6 separate regions of the Homo sapiens genome follow, and regions 2, 3, 4, 5 and 6 are each linked to region 1. Evidence: promoter capture Hi-C in 16 types of primary human blood cells and fetal thymus (Javierre and others, 2016). All regions are on one chromosome and are shown on one strand. Each heading gives the region's core, a stretch centred on a gene start or on the middle of the fragment in contact. The rest is flanking DNA. Distances are from core to core; before and after follow the strand shown.

What was found. The method cuts DNA at HindIII sites, captures the fragments that hold promoters and counts their contacts. A CHiCAGO score of 5 or more calls a contact.
Region 2: the fragment with the promoter of MRPL19 here is called in contact with the fragment with the promoter of FAM168B in region 1 in 6 of 17 cell types (total CD8 T cells, non-activated CD4 T cells, naive CD4 T cells and 3 more); the score reaches 20.4 in total CD8 T cells.
Region 3: a fragment that was not itself captured here is called in contact with the fragment with the promoter of FAM168B in region 1 in 1 of 17 cell types (total CD4 T cells); the score reaches 5.3 in total CD4 T cells.
Region 4: a contact is called between the fragment with the promoter of REV1 here and the fragment with the promoter of FAM168B in region 1, in 2 of 17 cell types (monocytes and neutrophils). The highest score is 7.4, in monocytes.
Region 5: a fragment that was not itself captured here is called in contact with the fragment with the promoter of FAM168B in region 1 in 3 of 17 cell types (total B cells, total CD4 T cells and non-activated CD4 T cells); the score reaches 5.4 in total B cells.
Region 6: a contact is called between the fragment with the promoter of NMI here and the fragment with the promoter of FAM168B in region 1, in 1 of 17 cell types (fetal thymus). The highest score is 5.1, in fetal thymus.

The regions. Positions count from the first base shown.
Region 1 is chr2:131,091,860-131,095,047 of GRCh38, reverse strand. It overlaps FAM168B (family with sequence similarity 168 member B), which reads left to right and starts at 1,588. Exons shown (of 7, transcript NM_001009993.4): 1 at 1,588-1,834. RefSeq lists a silencer at 1,415-2,134. The HindIII fragment of the contact is 2,381 bases long and covers 138-2,518 here.
Region 2 is chr2:75,645,060-75,648,247 of GRCh38, reverse strand. MRPL19 (mitochondrial ribosomal protein L19) reads right to left here and starts at 1,465. Exons shown (of 6, transcript NM_014763.4): 1 at 1,338-1,465; 2 at 1,029-1,146. The coding sequence starts at 1,440. RefSeq lists enhancers at 1,236-1,535, 1,371-1,665. The HindIII fragment of the contact is 2,636 bases long and covers 1-1,653 here.
Region 3 is chr2:95,072,960-95,076,147 of GRCh38, reverse strand. All of the region lies in intron 1 of LOC124907857 (a long non-coding RNA gene), which reads left to right. It overlaps LOC105373488 (a long non-coding RNA gene), which reads right to left and starts at 1,258. Exons shown (of 3, transcript XR_923076.3): 1 at 987-1,258; 2 at 232-404; 3 at 1-34. The HindIII fragment of the contact is 3,474 bases long and covers 1-3,188 here.
Region 4 is chr2:99,488,268-99,491,455 of GRCh38, reverse strand. It overlaps REV1 (REV1 DNA directed polymerase), which reads left to right and starts at 1,439. Exons shown (of 23, transcript NM_016316.4): 1 at 1,439-1,639. RefSeq lists an enhancer at 616-1,501 and silencers at 935-1,604, 1,715-1,814, 1,885-1,964. The HindIII fragment of the contact is 11,070 bases long and covers 1-3,188 here.
Region 5 is chr2:152,714,079-152,717,266 of GRCh38, reverse strand. It overlaps PRPF40A (pre-mRNA processing factor 40A), which reads left to right. Exons shown (of 26, transcript NM_001365597.4): 1 at 1-37; 2 at 1,141-1,272. Among named protein-coding and RNA genes, the nearest start is that of PRPF40A, 1.8 kb to the left of the region's middle. RefSeq lists an enhancer at 1-106. The HindIII fragment of the contact is 1,151 bases long and covers 1,043-2,193 here.
Region 6 is chr2:151,287,931-151,291,118 of GRCh38, reverse strand. It overlaps NMI (N-myc and STAT interactor), which reads left to right and starts at 1,451. Exons shown (of 8, transcript NM_004688.3): 1 at 1,451-1,526. RefSeq lists enhancers at 863-1,282, 1,343-1,422, 1,813-1,862, 1,883-1,932, 2,733-2,902 and a silencer at 1,483-1,682. The HindIII fragment of the contact is 4,870 bases long and covers 1-3,188 here.

The DNA.
Region 1 (3,188 bases), core at 339-2,838:
TTTTTATTGTTGACTTCTGGAAGCTTTTGGAATATTAAAGAGATTAGCTTTGTCTATTACATGTGTTGGGACTATTTCTTCCTTGTTAATCATTTATCTTTTGACTTTGCTTATGGTGCTTTTTGCCGACCAAAGCTTTTCATAGTCATGACTTCTGGATTTCAAGTAATAATGTAGAAAAGCCTTCTTTACTCCAATACTAAAAAGGAATTTCCCCATGTTTTCTTCTTGTCCTTTTATCACATTTATATTTTATTTTTATTTTTTTTTTTGAGACGGAGTCTTCCTCTGTCGCCCAGGCTGGAGTGCAGTGGCCCGATCTCGGCTCACTGCAACCTCCGCCTCCCGGGTTCAAGAGATTCTCCTGCCTCAGCCTCCAGAGCAGCTAAGGTTACAGATGTGCGCCACCACGCGCAGCTAATTTTTGTATTTTTAGTAGAGACGCGGTTTCACTATGTTGGCCAGGCTGGTCTTGAACTCCTGACCTCGTGATCTGCCCGCCTCGGCCTCCTATAAGTGCCGGGATTAAAGGCGTGAGACACCGCGCCCATCTGTTTTTATTTCATAAACGACTGAAAAAAGACCAGAGCCAGGCCTCCTCCCTTCCATCACTAATCTTTATTGCAATAACTCCCTCCTTTGTCGTCCTGTACCTAGCTCAGACCAGACGACACCCCAAACACAAACACCAAGACACGCACCTCTTTAATACGAAATAATAAACATACCTCCCCCAGAGAGACACCCTGAACTAACCAAATCATTGTAACTATACACTAAGCCTTACATAAAAATACTAACATTTGGCCGGGTGCGGTGGCTCACACTTGTAATCCCAGCACTTTGGGAGGCCAACGTGGGTGGATCACCTGAGGTCACGGGTTCGAGACTAGCCTGACCAACATGGTGAAACCCCCGTCTCTACTAACACAAAAATTAGCCAGGTGTGGTGGCGGGCGCCTGGAATCTCAATTACTCAGGAGGCTGAGGCAGGAGAATCGCTTGAACCCGGGAAGCGGAGGTTGCAGTGAGCCAAGATCGCGCCATTGTACTCCAGCCTGGGTGACAAGAGCGAAACTCCGTCTCAAAAAAAAACCAAAAAACCCCCTAACATTCTAGTACACTTCCCTGAACTCTTGTCTATAGAAATGATCCCGCACTTCTACACTTGAAACGCTGACTTGCATTCTCTAAAATCTGCACTCCTGAGCGGGCGCCCGCAGCCTCCGCACTGGCAAAGAATCTGTGAGCTGAGCTCCGCCCCGCTCCGACCCCGTAGTGGCGGTCACCCGGGGTGTGCTCGACTCCCGGGTGCGGCCTGAGGATCCGCGCCCTGGCGTCTGGGCACACACAAAGGTTTCTGCGGCGCGGGACTATCTCAAAATATAAATTAAATACTTTTTTCACAGACAGTTAATAAAAAAACTACAGCTACACCCGGCCCTTTCGCCAACTGGGACCGGCCCACTCCGCGCTCGCGCTCGCGCTCGTCCATCCGGGCGTCTCGAGGGCGCCGGCGGGAGCGAGCACGCTGCGCAGTCACGTGCCCGGCGCGCCCCCGTCGCGGCGCGCTCAGGCGGAAGTGAGGTCGGCGGCTCCGGTGGCTGCGCAGCGTCGGCGGGGAGCGCGGGCTGCGGAGAGGCGGGCCGGGCCAAGCGGAGCCGAGCGAGCGGGAGCGCGGCGTCCGGGAGGCGGCGGAGACGCGGGGCTCGGAGGGTCAGCCTCTTATCGTAGCAGGTCTCCTCGGCACGCCCCCCTTGTTTCGCCCCACGGCCAAGCCCGCCGCGGGCCGGCGTGCGCTGGTCACTGAGGCCCAGGTCGCCGCCGCGGCGCGGTGAGTGGGGGCGGGCAGCGGGCGACTGCGCGTCCAGGCCGGAAGTGCGGCGCTTTGTGCGGCCGGCTCGGGGCGGCGCCAAGGTCGGCCCGCGGCTCGGGGTCGCTGGGCGTCTGGACCGGCCTGGGCTGCGCTTTGTGCCGCGGGCAAGGCCGGGCGGGGGCCGGGGGCGGAGCTCGGCCGGACACGTACGCGTGCAGGTGCGGTCCGGGCGGCGCGGGCCTGCCGCCTAGGTGGCCGAGGTGGCTTCGCGGCGCGGGGCGTTCTCCTAAAGGTCGGGGTCACAGCCGTCAGGAATGCGAGCGTGAAACCCGGGGGCAGAGCTTTGTGACAATAGTCATTTCCAATGTGTAACTGCTCACTTTGTCTACCCACGAAGTAAAGATAATTTTTATTTTTATTTTTTTGCTTGGCGGAATCTGAGCGTTCTCCTTCCAGCTTGAAAAGGCACGATTTAAATTACAGATTTTTAAGATTTCCTTCAGAAAGGACGTTTCGTGGCCTAGCCTGGGTTAACTTTGAAAAAAGAGTGCAGTGCGCCTTTACGACGTCCACAAATAAGGGTATTTCTGTTTTATAGTGTATGTGAACATGAAGTGTGCATCTCATGGGCTGTTTGAGTTAATGTTTAATCATTAAAGTCAAACAAGAATATTTTGCAGTGTTTTCGCATGCAAGGAAGCTTTATAAATAAAAAGGTTTATATAGTTTCCACTCCTTAAACTTTCAGGTCATCCTTGTGTAATTTGAGATCACTTTTCTCAAATACTATGGATGAAAGATTCTAGATTAAATAAAACTTTTTGGTTTTGGCAAAAACAGGACACATTTTTAAGCTCTTGTAGATGAAGGAGTGGGTTATTTTTGCTTTGACAGCCAAGATTTGAGCAGTGTAAGGCTATTCTAATTTTGAAGCTAGTGTTGCAGAAATTGTGAAGATCTTGCTTCTCTTTGTCTTTACAAAGCAGGCTTACTTTGGTGGAGTTCCGTAGTTTAAAGGGAAATTATACCCAAGTTGTCTTAGACAGTTTCTTTTCCTGGATCAATTGAGCACTTTTTTTTTTTTTTTTGAGACGGAGTCTCCCTCTGTTTCCCAGACTGGAGTGCAGTGGCGCCATCTCGGCTCACTGCAAGCTCCGCCTCCCGGATTCACGTCAGTCTTTTGCCTCAGCCTCCCAAGTAGCTGGGACTGCAGGCGCCCGCCACCACGCCTGGCTAATTTTTTTGTATTTGTTTTTTTTTTTTTTTAGTAGAGACGAGGTTTCACCGTGTTAGCCAGGATGGTCCCAATCTCCTGACCTCGTGATCCGCCCGCCTCGACCTTCCAAAGTGCTGGGATTACAGACGTGAGCCA
Region 2 (3,188 bases), core at 216-2,715, about 55 Mb after region 1:
GTTCTCTAGAGCATATAATTTACATTCCTATTTAAGTGAATTCTATTAAATGCCACTGTTTAAAAGAGATATTCCATTTCTACCCTCAAAAGCAAAGTTTTATGAAGAAATATTTTCTGAATCTCTTAGTTCTCTAACTCCAAGTTTACTTCTATTTAAATCCGTGGAATATTTTAAATGTTAAAAAAAGAAAAGAAAAAAAAAAGCCAGGCGTGGTACCAGTAGTTCCAGCTACTCTGGAGCCTGAGGCGGGAGGATCACTTGAGCCCAGAAATTTGAGGCTGCAGTGAGCTAAAATCACCACTGCACTCCAGCCTGGGAGACTGAGAGAGACTCTGTCTAAAAAAAATTTAAAAAATAAAAAAATTAAAAATCCCAGAAGTAATCCAATCAATAATCTACAGCCCTTTCAAAAAGCCTATAATCATATCAGGTTTTTCCTCTGAAAACTGGCTTTTTAAAAAGGTTGCTACATAGCTCTCTTTTCAGACCTTAAGTCCTTTAAATTTACATGTACCTCCAAGATTACCACCATTCATATAAGTTTTTATTCACACTATTTTGATGAGTAAGTTTCAGACACAATTTAGTGGCCAGTTTTACTGTGCTTTGTCTGCCAAAACTTCCAACCTAAACCATAGCAAATTTTTTAAGTTGGCCAATCGATTCCTATCCAGGGTTAAGGGTCTTTTGAGAGAAAAGAAGAGCTCTTGGACGTAAACAGGTATAAACAGGATATACCTCAGAGAAAAACTCTGGTACAGGACAAATACCACAGAGAAAAGAGTTTAAAATATGGGGAACCCCTACTTGAAGTTCTGACTCAATAAAACTGCAAAGAAGTTCAATGCTGGCTTGGGGAGAAGTGAGAAAGAAAGAACAGTGTGGTGCGCTGGCTCTTGAATCCTACACACCTGCTCGTGCAGGGGGAGGTGCAGCCCCCACCTTAGAGCCGGGACCTCGAACGCGAACGCGCTCACGCGCGCACCGACCCCAGTTGCCGGCCTAGCGCCAGGGCAGTGCCTCACCTGCGTTCCGGTTCCACGGGGCGGTGCTTGTCCACGATGACCGGTTTCGGCGGCGGTTGGAACGCACCGGGCTCGGAAGGCCCAGTGCTCTGCTGCCGGACAGGCCCCGCGTGGACCCCTGCGGGAGCGGACGACGGAGGTCAGAACTCTCGTGCCAACCCTGAGATCCCGCAGAGCCCCGCAATCTCCCCCAACCCGGCGTCCCACGGGGGACCAACGCTGGGGTTGCCTCTGATCTCCAGGTTCGCCTCCCCCATCCTGACCCTGGGCCCCTAACGCGCCCCAGCTCGCAAGTCCGGCTCCACTTACTGCAGGCGATAGAGGCCGGCGGGGGGAGCAGAGTCCTGGCGGCTTGGAAACTCCGGCCTAGGCCCATTGCAGCCCAGTGCCCCGCTGCAATGCAGGCCGCCATGCCAGCTAGCTCACGTCAAGACTACAGCTCCCAGTAATCAGTGCGACGAGGTTGTTGCTGTCTGCCACCATATGGCGGCTGCTATGGGACAAAATGGATAAGTCTCTCCTCGCTCCTTTCCTGATGTCTTAGGAAAAGTGCACGTTTCTCTAGTTCCTCGTAATGCGCCAAGTTACACCCCTCCACAGGGGTGTTCTCCCAGCCTAGAAAGCTTTTTCCTCCCCCTATGAATCCACTCTATCTTCTCAGACAAGCTTTCGCTATGCGAAAATCCCATTGTAGGCCGTCTTTCCCACTGGGTGCCTTCGATTGGCAGCTCTGATCTCATTTGCAATTCTTTCTTGTGTAATTATTAGATTAGTATTTAAATCTGCCATTATACTATAATGAGGCAAGGGAAGGGATAAAGTCTTCTTTTTGCTCACCATGTTATCCCAGCACCTAGCACCTACCTGGGCCCTCACTAACATCTTTTGTTTTGTTGAGACAAGGTCTTCCTCTGTTACCCAGGCTGGAGTGCAGTGGCGCGATCATGGCTCTGCAGCCTCCAACTCCTGATGTCAGGAGATCCTCTCACCTCAGCCTCCCGAGTAGCCAAGACTACAGTCTCGCACCATCACGCCCAGCTAATTTTTCTAATTCTTTGCTGAATGCACAGAAAAGAGAATAGAATAGTTCCTGACAGAACTGCTGGCCCATAGTCCTTGAGACTACACAAAGCATTAACCCTTTGAGGAACCCAAATGAATTTGGGCTGGGCAACTGTGGGTATGGATAGGTGGGAGAAGTAAAGCTGGAAAAGGTAAATTGTAAGTCTTGTTAAGAAATTTGGAAAATGACTGGGCGTGGCCAGGCATGCCTGTAATCCCAGCACTGTGGGAGGCCGAGACAGGAGGGTCCCTTGAGCTCATGAGTTGGAAACCAGCCTGGGCAATATAGTGAGACCGTATCTCTAAGAAACAAACACACAGCCGGGCGCAGTGGCTCACGCCTTTAACCCCAGCATTTTGGGAGGCCGAGGCGGGCAGATCGCCTGAGGTCAGGAGTTTGAGACTAGCCTGGCCAACATAGTGAAACCCCGTTTCTACCAAAAATAAAAAAAATGATCCAGGTGTGGTGGCAGGCTCCTGTAATCCCAGCTACTTGGGAGGCTAAGGCAGGAGAATCGCTTGAACCTGGGAGACAGAGGTTGCAGTGAGCCGAGATCGCGCCATTGCAACAAGAGCGAAACTCCGTCTCAAAAAAACAGAAAAAGAAACACACACAAAAAAAGAAATTTGGAATTTGTTATTTCAGCAGTGGTTATATAAGGATTGAACACTTAGAGTAATGTGATAATTTAACTACATAATAGTCATTCCAGTTGCATTAATGTCCCAAAGCTACCTCAAATTCAGCCTATCCATACTGAGTTCATCTTTTTCAGCTCCAGACTTCCTTCCCAGTATTGGCTATCTCAAGGAATGGCTTCAGCATCCACTCTCTTGCCTAAGCCAAAAATCTCAGTGCCATTCTTGATTCCTCCCTGTCTCCTCCTGGATGAAGTTCCAAAAACTATGCCTGACACCGTCAAATATCTCAGGAATCCATATACTTTCTCATCCTCCCATCCATATTTCCAATCTAGGTCAACATATTTTCTCTCTTCAGGATCCCTGGAGATCCCTGCAACAGCCTTCTCATTAGTCTTCTTGCCTCTGGTTACCTCCAGTCCTTCACGCAGCAACCAAAAAAAGATGGCTCAGAAA
Region 3 (3,188 bases), core at 327-2,826, about 36 Mb after region 1:
GCTCTTGCTTCCTCTGGGTCCTCAGTTTCCCCATCTGTAAAACAAAGGGACAGACCAGACCGCATGATCCTTAACTGGGGCTGAGGCTACAGCCTTAGGTTTCCAGGGTGCAGATCTTGATATTCCCTGGGCACAGCGCCTGAGCACAGATTCCTCTGTGGGGAGATGGACTCACATCCCTGGGAACCCTGCTGGAAGTATCTGCCCAAGCAAGCAGCTCTGAGCCCTTACCTGAAGGTTCATCTTTGGCAATGGGATTCCTTGGAAAGAAAGCTGCCCCTTAACCCCGGGGGCTGCCGTGGGGTGCCCACATAGCAGGGCTGTAATATTTTTTTCTTATCTCTGGAGAGCAGCTCAATTCATGTCCAGTAAACACAAACCCGGAGGCCCTTTCTTGATGAACACTGCAGATATAATGAAAAACTGGCTCAGATCTTCATCTTACAAATGCAGCTGCTGCTTCAGACATGGTGCTTCCCCCAGGCTTATGGGGATTCAACTCATAGACTCATGTAAACACACATGTAACCCATGGCACCCTCAGGGCCTGGGACAGCAGTCCAGAGCGGGATCTCTCTGCCTCCTAAGGCTGGCCCTGGAGAAGTCGCTTGGGGCAGATGTGAGGGGGATCACCAAAGGGAGGGGGAATTGCCACCAGCACATCCAAGATCATTCCTAGAAGGCAAGCAGCAACCTCCACGCCAGGTTTTCTGTGGCTCTCCGGAAGCCCTTGGATGCCTGTCCATTAAAAGAGGAGTCATTCAGGCCCTTCGCAAATGCTGGTGCCACAGTGGCTTTCAGAGGAGGCCTCATGGCCCCTCCTGACGTCCCCTTGGTACTTGGCTCCCCGGCCCTCTGCAGTCTCATCTGGAACACTGTCTGCTGTCCTGCTCCTTCCAGGGGTTCTGTGGCATTGCCCTTTTCAGCCCGGCCTGAGCTCCTGGGCAGCAAGGCTTCCCCTCCGACCCCCAGCAGCCTTCACCCACCTGCCCTGGGGGCTTTGTTCCTGCCTCTGGGACCCAGGGATGTGACCATGCCTCCAGGAGCCTTCGTCACCTGCTCCCAGGGTTGGGCAGGGTGTCCCTCCCAGCAGAGCCATCCTGGCTGCCCTCAGGCTGTGGCTCCCACCAGAAGCTGACAGCCTCCAGCAAAGCCAGAAATGGCCCCCTTGGCGGTTCCACCTGGCCCTCCCTTCCGTTGACAAGAATGCGACCTGAGTTGTTGCTTGTTGTTAACCCCTGTGCAGCAGCTTCCAAAGAAACTGCTTCAAAGCACGGGGCAGGGAGGGCTCCGCAGGGTTTGGAGGCAGAGGCAGCCTGAAAACAGGTGGCAAAGCTCTGAGGGCGGGTGCAGGAACAAAGCTGTGTGCGCTCTGCCCCATGTGTTCCAGCAAAACAGGATGTCGGTTAGTGGAGAAGGAGCAAAAGTGCCTCTGAAGTATTCTTGAGAAGGTCATGGTTGCTTCTCAGAAAGGGCATTTACCACAGACCAAGCAGAATTTCCCAGCTGGGCGCCTGGGGACTGGGGATCGTGCTGTTGAGCACAGGGGCATCTGAGAGCATTCGGACACTGCTGGCCTTCACCTCACACAGCCTCAGGTGTCCGGTGTGCTCTCCTCTCCAGATGGCCATATGGCCAGGGCTTCTTGTGTCCTTGGGCTGCGCAGGAGTGAAATCTCCTTTCCTGCCCGCAGGAAGCCACGTGGGCTTCAGTGGCCGTTTTGATTTGCGCCTATGAATCAGACGCTGGCCAGATCACCCTCCATAGCCCCTGCCCACGCCTAGGGAAGGACAATGGGGTCAGCCATGCGGTTGGCCAGGTATTGAGGGCTTGTTCATGGTGTCTTTGTGGGCCTGACAGAAGCCTTTGAGGCCATTAACACCCAAACCCTTCCACTCAATGTTGGGCAGGCTGAGAACTCTTCTAAGAATCTAAGAGTCAGCCTGAAGTATCGGGTGGGGTGGGGCTTCACTAGGATGGCAGCCACGGTGCCCTCACCCTCACCCCAGGCAGTTCCATGGTCAAAAGGCTCACTCTGTCCCAGGCCCTCCTCTCTAACGTTGCCCTCCCTGTCACAGACTGGGATGACTCAAGTCCTGGACTGCCCCCGGGCCAGCTGTCACCCGAGTGGGGTGGGAGTGGGGTGACTGCCTGCCCAGCGGTCAGGGCAGCAGCCACCCAGCTGCTCATTAACTCAGAGGCAGCCACTGGCTTCAGGGAGGCCCTCTCCCCAGGACTTCCCAGCCTGTCCATGCTTGAAGAGCTCTGTTTAATATACATATATTTTAAATTTGCACATTGGTCCTCTACCCAATACGCATGTTAATAGTAGGTACACTTCTAGTAACTGTCGATGGAGATATAAGTTTGTAAAAAGCTGCTCTGAGGTTAGCGGTGTTTTTAACGTAGGCACCATGAGCACAGGTATACATTTTGGAAAACAACACTGGAGGGTATAAGGGGCTTGGACTGCTTATGAATGCACAAAGCTAGTTCCCAGAGCCCTCAGGATGGAAGCCACAGGTTTAGGGTCCCCTTGAGTTCCCAGTGAGAGCTGGACTCAGCAGTGTGCACCCAGACACACACATTCCTGCTCCACTTGGGCTAGAATTAGCATGGTGACCATGCCATCTCTGAGACCTTCCAGGAACCCTTTGATCTCAATGATGATGAGGCTGAGGCCAGAACCTTCCAGTACCTTCTCAGTCAGTGGTTTTCAAACCTGGCTGACCATAAATGAACCTTCTGAAAAAGCTCTTTAAAAATGCAGATTTCTCGCCAGATGCAGTGGCTTACCCCTGGAATCCCAGCGTTTTCAGAGGCTGAGGCAGGGAGACTGCTTAAAGCCAGGAGTTTGTGACCAGCCTGGGCAACATAGGGAGACCGTGTCTCTACAAAAAATTAAAATTAGCTGGGCATGGTGGCATGCACCTGTAGTCCCAGATACTTAGGAGGCTGAGGCAGGAGGATGCTTGAGCCCAAGAGTTCAAGGCTGCAGTGATCTGTGATTGCACCACTGCACTCCAGCCTCAGCAACAGAGAGAGAGAGAGAGATGCTGTCTCAAAAAAAAAAATGCAGATTTCAATATCCATCACCTGGCAACTGGATCAGAATTTCCAAGGCTTGGGTCCTGGGCTGTATTTTTTAAAGCTCTCAAGTCCAGGCAACACACAAAGAAAATGGCATG
Region 4 (3,188 bases), core at 190-2,689, about 32 Mb after region 1:
AAAATTAGCCGGGCATGGTGGCGCATGCCTGTAATCCCAGCTACTCGGGAGGCTGAGGTGGGAGAATCACTTGAACCTGGGAGGCGGAGGTTGCAGTGAGCCGAGATCGCGCCATTGCACTCCAGCCTGGGCAAAAGAGCAAAACTTCGTCTCAAAAGAAAAGAAAAGAAAAGAAAGCAATTACGCAATTTGTTTTAAATTATGACGTCTTTGAAAAGTATGCAATCTAAATTCGTTGGATTAGCGACGAGAATACTGAAGTTGAAGTGCATTTATAGAAGTCTATAAAATGGCAAAAAACTGAAAGGGAAAGAAATGAGCTATTTGAGTATTCTCTGTGTTGCTAGTAAACAAGTTCCAACTCTGCAAATCAGTTTTCAAAAGAATACTGATTGTTTCCTAAGTACCTGCAAACTCTGAAGCATTTTAGGCAAGGGAATGAGTGGGAAAAAAGTATCTTCATGTTTGTGCATTACAACAATAAAGACTATTATGTAACAATGTGGAGTCTTCAAAGCGACCCTGCCAAGAGGGAGAAAGTGGTCCTTATGGACGGATTGTTTTCTGCTAGAAGGCCCTCAATTAGAATTGTACTTACGCATACATAATATAGGATATTATTTTTATATTCATAGAAAACTGCTTTCTCGGGTAACTCCAGCGCTGTACATGGGATGGGATACCGGCCCTCCGTTTACAAATACTCAGGCGCAATGCTGCCCGGGCACTCAAAGGACAGAAGATAGTGTCTGTGCCCTGCGGGAGCAGGCCACGAATCCCGAAAACGCCGTGGCGCAGTGCTCCTTCCCGCGAACCTGAGTGGGCCGTGGTTCTCGGTTGCTCTGGACATAGGAAAATGTCAGTTCATGTGTGTCCCTTTCTCCACTAGATGTCACTGTAAATCAATTGCTTAAGGAGGGAACCCGGGCGTCTGGCGCATCTTCACACAGTACCGGGGTTTGAAGCCCGGTCAGTGTCTGCACTTGTGTCCTTCCCCACTGGGGAGCCCCAAGGCGGGGCAGGCGCGGGGACTCGCTGTGCACGGAGCGGCGCGCTGTCCGAATGGCAACCGAAGAGCCGCGACCCGGTCAACGAAGCGCGGGGGTGACCGGAGCAGGACGGGCGGGCAGGCGGCGCAGTGCGTGGGCGGGCCCGCGCTGCGCTCCCCTCCGCCCAGCTAGCGAGACGGTCACGTGCCGCCCAGGCGCTGCCCCTTGCGGGCGGCTGCAGAACAACAGGGCGGGGCCGGGGAGGGGAGGAACACGGAGGCCGACGCCGGGCGCCGCGGTGCTACGCCCGAGGCTGGGGTCGCCCCGGGCCGGGGGGAGCAGAGCGCGTGCGCCGCGCGGCTGTGAGCGCGAGCGGGGCCGGGGAGCGCGCGCGGAACGCTAGGGGGCGTGGCTGCGGCGCGCGCGCTAACCGGAGGGGGAGGGGCGGAGAGCCACCGCGGAGCGCGCGCGGGGTTGGTTGCCGCGAGCGTGGGGGAGCGTGGACCGCGGCGCTGCTCAGCGGTGGGGCTGCCTTCCCCCGGCCCTCCTCCCTGGTCCCTGGCGAGGGCACTGGCGGCGGCGGGGCCGGGGTCCGCAAGGCCGGAGAAGGCCGCCGGGCCCGGGCATGGTGGTCTGGGGCAACGCGGAAGGTGAGCGACCCCCGGGCCGGCGGCGGGGTGGGGGAGGGGCGGGATCGGACACGCGTCGCCCGGAGGCGCCGCAGACCCGCCCGGCAGCGGCCAGAGCGCGGTCGGCCTGAGGTGGCGCGGGGGAGGGGTGCGTCGCCCCGGCCCCGGCCCGCGGCCGTCCTGTCGCGGCCTGGGCTGTCCACGGCGCCTTCCCCTGACGCTCGCAGCCGCCGGGTTATGTAATGTGTGACCTCCCCTCCCCTTCCCTTCCGTCATGGCGCGGCCGGCCCCGCGCCGCCGCCAGCCCCATGGGCCGCCCCGCGCCGACCCCTGGCGCAGCGGCCCTTCCCTCCGCGCCCGGCCGCATCCCGCCGGCCCGGTCAGACCGCGCCGCAAACTCCTTCCTCCTGCGCCGGCGCCTCGGCCGGCCATTCAGTTCCGCGCCATTCATTCACGCGCGCGTTCGGGCGTTCGTTCCACAAGCGTTTGTAGAATGTCGACCCGGTCGAGCCGCCGCTCCCACCCGCACTCCAGCCACAGCGTTTTTCCGCACCCCGCCTTCGACGTCCCCGGTGCATCCCAGAACCGGTCGGAATGTCCGAAGGCGGTTGTTGCTCCCTTGTTTTTCCTTGCTGCTTGTCCGTTCGCTAAATACGCTGGGCGCCGTTCCCCAACTGTCCTTCCGAGAGCCCCTTGCCCACTTCTGTACTGTTACAGTGACGCCGCTCTGGGCGCACCGAGCCGCGCTGTGTTTCGCTGCTCTTCCTACCTATTCTCAGTTTGTAAAGAAATAATCTCACATAACACTCCTTAATGTACTCCTCCGTAAGATAAATTGCAGATAATATACGTCTGCTAATTCTCTTTATCTCCACGTCTTCTCACGCCATGTACTAAGTAGAAATGGTTTCATTTAGGTGAAAATAATGCAGACTAGCACATAGCACAACAAGGGCTTGTAACTATTAAGGACTTTATGTAACAGTCTGTAATTCTGTGTATCTGTCTGGTCTTTCCGGACTTGGCACTTTAGTCTCCGAGAATAAGCCATTTCCTGTTTAGGTAGGGTAGGACCAACCATAACCTTGGTTCTTTCTATGGAGTTCTGTATGTAGCAAATCAGCCTGTGGGAACCATCTATCTGTCCACCAACCTTTCACACATATTCTTGGGTTTGCCCGTGCAGGGACCAGTGCTGCGTATTGTTCCCTGCCTTCCTGTACTGGACACTTAAGAGCTCACCTAAAGTTCCTCTTCCAGGAATCATTCTCCAGTATACAAGGCTCTCTTCCATTCAATTCTTAGGCTATTTGCGCCTTTTCCTGTGTTGCGTTTATCTTTTTAGCCCTGTCTTCTCTTACTGTGTAGGACCTTTTGAGGGTAGAGTCTGTACCAAACTCCTATCTTTTGTTGTAGAACCTTAACCGCTATTTTACGGTAAACCGTACATATTTAATTTTTTTTGTAAAGATGGGAATTGCTCTTTTAAAATTAATTTCTATGAGGTCTCAAGTAGAACATAATTTTTAAAAAATAATGTGCTTGAATATATAAGATCACTACATTTCCA
Region 5 (3,188 bases), core at 369-2,868, about 22 Mb before region 1:
GGTCTCTGCTGACGGCTTCCTGAGGAGACGGCCCTCGGTAAGGGATCAGTGGGGCAGGGGGAAGGCGGCACAATGAAAAACGGAGTGAGAAACAGGAAGCTTTCTCCGAAAGGAGAAGAAGATAAGAGTGGACGAAGGAAGAACTCGAGATGGTGGGATATGTTCTGAGGGAGAGAAGTGGAGGGTGGAAATGCACAAAGAGAAGGATGTGAGACCCTGGAAGTTCCCCGTGGGCTTGGCCTAGACAGATGCGTGGTGAAGGTGCTGGCTCTTGGGCGGGGTGAGCGTCTTGGAGCTTTAGGCCCGATTTTAGCTGGGAGGGGGAGGCAGGGGCTTGATACTGTAAGACTTTAACAGCGGCTGCCAAAATTTGTTTTCATTAGTCGTCGGGGTGGTCTGCAGGGGGAACTGTTGGGACAATTGGCAGGAGATAATTAGGTGGTTTTAATTTAAAACATAGAACAATGGACTCATCGGTAAAGAAAGTAGTTGTCTTTTTAAACTGCGTTAAAAAGGATGAATTAGTTGTTTGCATTTAGTGTCCGTGAGTGACAGAACCTCAGTCTTTGAAAATGTATTTTTGGCAGAAGGAATTTTACCTGTCTTAAAGGTTATGTTAGGAAATAAGTTTGTTAGGAGTGAATTGTGCCTGGGTAGCCATACTGTTTGTGTTTTGTAAGACCGACTCTCACCTGAGTTAATTGGATAGAGCATTTTAAAGTTTAAAATCAGTAGTGTTATAAAATAACAATAGCTGGCTATCTTTTATATCTGCATGAAATAGGAGAGTTGTTGTTTTCACCATAACAGTTTTAAAATTAGTATTCAATGTGTATCCTCCAAGCTTAGCAAGCCAATTAGTAGCTGGTTAAGTCAGTGCTTAAAAAAAAGAGAGAGAAAACCTATGATCCAGCGGTCCAGGATTCATCTTAACTTTTCCCATTTTTTTACGGAATTTGCAAGCTCGTTTTAAATACTAGCAGAATGCGTTTTGTTTGAAACAAGGTATAGACTAATCCAATGATGTTATTACACATAAGCTTAATATTATGTCGCTTCAGATAACTGATCTGTTGAAATGAGATTTTTGAGAAGCATTTAGTATTATTTGCTCATTTAAAAATGTTCACTGTTTTTCAGATGGGGCACCCTGGCATGCATTATGCCCCAATGGGAATGCACCCTATGGGTCAGAGAGCGAATATGCCTCCTGTACCTCATGGAATGATGCCGCAGATGATGCCCCCTATGGGAGGGCCACCAATGGGACAAGTAAGACTGTTTTTGTTTTATTTTGCATTTATTTATTTGTTTTTGCCTCAGGTATTCTATCAAGATTTCAGAATCTAGGTCAGTAGTTATAGCTGTTTAATGATTAGTTTATGCCCGAATAATTTCAAATAAGCCAAATGTTAAATCATGACTGTAACGGAAATTTGAATAATGGAAAAGTCTTCTGAGAAATTTAAATAATGAAAAAGTCTTCTGAGAAATTTACTGATGACCTCAAAACTAAGAATTTTTTTCTTTATTATTTAAAAGTAAAGTGTGGATCCAGGCTTTTATTTTTAATGATTATTTTTTCAAGAATGCCAATTGAAGTTGATGGTCTAAGTAAATATTATCTGATACAGCAACATAACTGATTTTGGTAGACCATGTAAATAAATAGAATCTGAAAATAGCTATTGTTTTGGTTTAGAGCGAATTTTATTCCTGAAATATCTTCCTCTTTGTGTGTTGGAGGAGGGTGAGGGAGGGTGGGGAGTTTGTGCTCTATAATTCTGATTCTTCATAGGACAGTGCCAATAGGTAGTTCATTTTCCACTTATACTATTTTTTTTTAATGCTTGTTGCTTCTACACTCCTGCTTATGAGCTGTCCCTTCCATCTCTAGCATAAATTGTAAATGGACATTTTGTAGGAGTGATTTGGATCAAAAGGTTTTAATGCTGATTCAGTGATTTCGGTAGAACTGAGTTTCTAGAGAAGCATCCAAGAAAGGTAACAGGTTCAGTTACCATGAGTAATTTTGTGCTTCATGTTAAGTTCTATAATAGATCTTTAGGTGGCTGGGTTATTTCCATTTGAGTATTTCCATAAATCATCAAAAATTTAGGCTAACAAAATATTTTGGAAGCCAATTTCATGTGATCTTTTGCTAATTAGTACTGTTTGATAATTGTTTAAGCTTTCATGGTTAAAGTTATTGGTGAAATTGCAGTGGGAAAAGGAGCTTGCTATGTGTCTGTCTCTTTTTACTTAACCTTAAGAGTAGAAGGGCTTAATGTCCAGTGATTTTCCTCTTTTTTTTTTTAATTTGGAATATTGCCCTTAATTTTGTTAAAAAACAAAACAAAACCTTTATTCAAAGGCACCAGCCCCAAAAGATTCTGCTTGCAGGAGTTCTTTAAATAAAAGAGCCTTTTATTCTGTTACTCTAGAATAACACAAATTTTAAAACTCTCTAGGTGATGGAGAAACAACTTTGATTCCTCTTCTGTTTCTTTCCATCTCTAAGGAGCAAGGAGCTCTTCTTGTTTTCTTGGTAGAGCTGCTCTAACTAGATAATGAGCTTTAAAAATATTTATTCTTTAAATGCTCTGGTTCTTATTTAAAATTAGTTTCTTTCCACAGAAAGATAAAATAAAACAATTTGCTACTGCCAGATGCTTCTCTCTTTTCTGGGGCCTTCTGTTTCCATTGGGCCAATCAAGGTAAGTTTTGCAAGGGATTGACCTGCTTACCCTTGCTGTAATGGTGCTATTGCACTACCAAAACCAAGATACCAGCTAGTCATAGTTCTAGTTAAAAAAAAAAATGCAGATTTTATTTTTTAAAAGTACTTTCATGTATCTCATTGACATAAGCTGGTCACAGTTTGCTTTATGGCCCTTTCTCTTTAGCTGTATCAGTGACCATCTTTCTAGTAAGTTTACTTGCTACTCGGTACACATCCATTCAAATAACTGATTTTTTTGGTGTGGTTTTCTTCTACTTTTTCCTAGGCTAATATATGCCACGTGCCTTTAAGTAGACCTAATTATTTAGATGTTTAGAATTCTTCTCCCTCTGAAGGCTCCTGTTAGTATAATAAATAAATGTTTTAGTAGGAGTTATGCCCTGAAAGTCCCAAAAGAATCTCCGCTGTTTTTGTCAGAATTATATAATTCCCTTTTATCCCCTTA
Region 6 (3,188 bases), core at 202-2,701, about 20 Mb before region 1:
ACCTGTATCATTTGCCTTTTAAACAGAATCTGAGTCAATATATTAAGTTAGTCCTGTTCTGGCCATGGTCCTGTCCTTTAGTATCTTCTTGTAAAAAATAAAAATAAGAAGAAATGAGGTTCAACTAAATAACCTCGAGAGTTCATATTCCCTCTAAAATTTCAAGGTAAAACTAAAGTAATTCTTTCTCAAGTTGCAGCAGAAGGAGTTTTTGTATTTTCTAACTGGTCTGATAAGCACAAAGAAGTCGTTTTTTTTACTTAGAAATGCCATTTTACAGGAGGCTGAGGTGGTGGGATCACTTGGGCCAGAGCTCAAGATCAGCCTGGGAAACAGTTAGATACCTGCCCCCAGCACCCAAATTAAAAGTACAAAAAATCTGGGTGCGGTCGTGAATTCCTGTAATCCCAGCTACTTGGGAGTGGAGGTGGAAGGACTGCTTGAGCTCAGGAGTTGGAGACTGGGCAACAGAGCAAGACTCATCTCAAAAAAAAAAAAAAAAAAGAGAAATGTCACCACTTTAAACTGGTTCCCATCAACCTTTTTGATACAAAGAAATTTTACTTTTGTTAAACTATTTTAGACCACTGTATCAGTTATTATATGTGACTAGGTAGCATGATAACCTATAATTTATGCCTTGAAATAATTTTGACTCATTTTCTTCCCACATCTGTATTTATGAGCCGGGGCAGCTGTGGGGTGGTTCTTTGTGTGGGATTAAGAGACACTGCAGTTCTTGAAATAAACCAGATGTTTGAATTTTCAAAGGAAAAGTTCACACCTAGTGAAGTATTTATTTACAAGCTCCACAACAAAACAAGAGATTATAAGAAAACTTTCAAGGGACATGGGTCACAGAAACCAACAGGAACACCACAGCTTTCCCAACTTCATGGCCCCGGGGGATGTTACAAAAGACACAGAAACGCCGATCTTGTGCTGACTGTAAACATTTGTCAACTAGTGTTACAATGACTAAGAAATTACAAAAGAGTTACAATCTGATGAAGAGCGATTCCTGCTTTGACTTTATTTGGTTTCTATCCACTTTTCCAACATACCTTATAAAATACATGCAAAAAACTGGTTTTAGAAAGCGTTCCCTAAAATTAGTGTGTACGGAAACTTCAGGTATACTTCTGCTTTCCTCCGCAAAACCACCCCTTTTTAAAAATCGAAAGTGAAATTAGTTTTTTTTTCTGTTAGTGACTAATCATTGGAGACAACCATGTTTAGTATTTGAGCATTGGTTAAATGCTAAAGAAAAATCGCCGTTAAAGCAGTTTTCTTTTTCACTGTCTTTTTCTTTTCGCGGGGAACCCAGCTGTTCCTGCGAGGGCCACCTCCTCAGGAAGACCCCGCAGCTCTCCCGCGGCGCTTCTGCAGGAGGCAGCGACAGTTTCGAGAACCCGGGCCTTCCCCTCCCAGTGCCTCCCGGGGTTCCGGCGTTTCAGGCGCTGCTGTTTTCCGGGAAGGGCAGGCGCGCTGGGCCTTGGGGAGCTGCGCTCGGCGGGCGGACGCGGGTGAGTGGGGAGTCCCTTCCCCGGCTGCCACTCCCGCCGCTGGCAGTCCCGGGCTGGAGAGCCGGGGGTGGAAAGGGAGGTGGGAGCCCTCAGCGCCGACGGAAGTGGGACAGCGCCGGAGTTGAGACCCTGCTCCCCGGGAGCTGCCCGCAGCCGAGTCGCGGAGGCCACGCCGCCTTCGAGGGGGCGCACCTGCTCCTGGGCCCGCTGTGCAGTCTCTGGGCCGTCAGGGCTTCGAGCCTTGTCACTTGTTTGCTTTGCTTCATTGAGGAAATTGAAACATAAAGTTATTTGTGTTTCCTCGCTGTTTTCTCTCTTTTTTTTTTTTTTTTTTTTTTTTGAGACGGAGTCTCGCTCTGTCGCTCAGGCTGGAGTGCAGTGGCGCGATCTCGGCTCACTGCAAGCTCCGCCTCCCGGGTTCACGCCATTCTCCAGCCTCAGCCTCCCGAGTAGAGTAGCTGGGACTACAGGCGCCCGCCACCACGCCTGGCTAATTTTTTTTTTTGTATTTTTAGTAGAGACGGGGTTTCACCGTGTTAACCAGGATGGATACGATCTCCTGACCTCGTGATCCGCACGCCTCGGCCTCCCAAAGTGCTGGGATTACAGGCGTGAGCCACCGCGCCCGGCCCTCGCTGTTTTCTCCGAGTGTCTCTGGAGATAGTCCTTAGGAAAACGGATTTCTTAAGAAAACGATTCTTGGTAGGGGCAGTGTTGTGCAGTCATGGCTGGCGTGTCAGAATAGGCAAGGTTTTTCTTGAAGGAGACATCCGAAGGAGAATACTGTGTTTCCAGTCTGTACAACAGGCAGACGTTCTATTGCCTTTCTTTTTGCTGCCACGCATGCATATAGGAAGATTCGATTCTACACGGCCTGGCACCGCAGTTATATGATTGTATTACGGAAATACGGTGATGTTGATTTGTATCAGTTTTTTTAATTCGCTGCCATAACAAATTACATGGCTTTAGTGGCTTAAACACATAGGAACGCGCGCGCGCGCGCACACACACACACACACACACACTCACATACACAATTTACTATCTTAGGATTCTGTAGCAGTCCTACTGAGGTCTCACTGGGTTAAAATCAAAGTGTTGGCAGGGTTGCCTTCCTTTCTGGAAGCTCTTGGGGTGAATCCTCTTTCCATCTTCCGGAGGCCACCTACCTTATTTGGCTCAGCAGCCCTTCCTCCATCTTCAGGGCCAGCAACATTGCGCCTCTGAAAGTTCTTCCGGGGTCACATTTCACTCTTGACTCTTCTTCTGTCTTCCGCTTTCACTTTTAAGTAGCCTCATGATTACACTGGGCTCCCACAGATAATCCAGGATGCTCTCCATATTTAAAAGCAAGCTGATTAGCAACCTTAATTCAATCTGCAGCCTTAATTCTCCTTTGCAATATAAACTAACATAATCACAGATTCTTGGGATTAAGATGTGGACATCTTTGAGGGAGCCATTGTTTTGCCTACTACATGATTGCATAAAAGGAATGACCATACATCCCACTCATGCATAGAGCAAAAGTATCCAGATGCAAAAGATGCCAAAAGGGTTCTGGTGGTGTTAGATAGTAGACCATTTATGCTGAGAGCCTTTATTACAGGCTCTTGGAATATTGGCATTGTCACAATAATAAAAATAAAAAGCAATTAA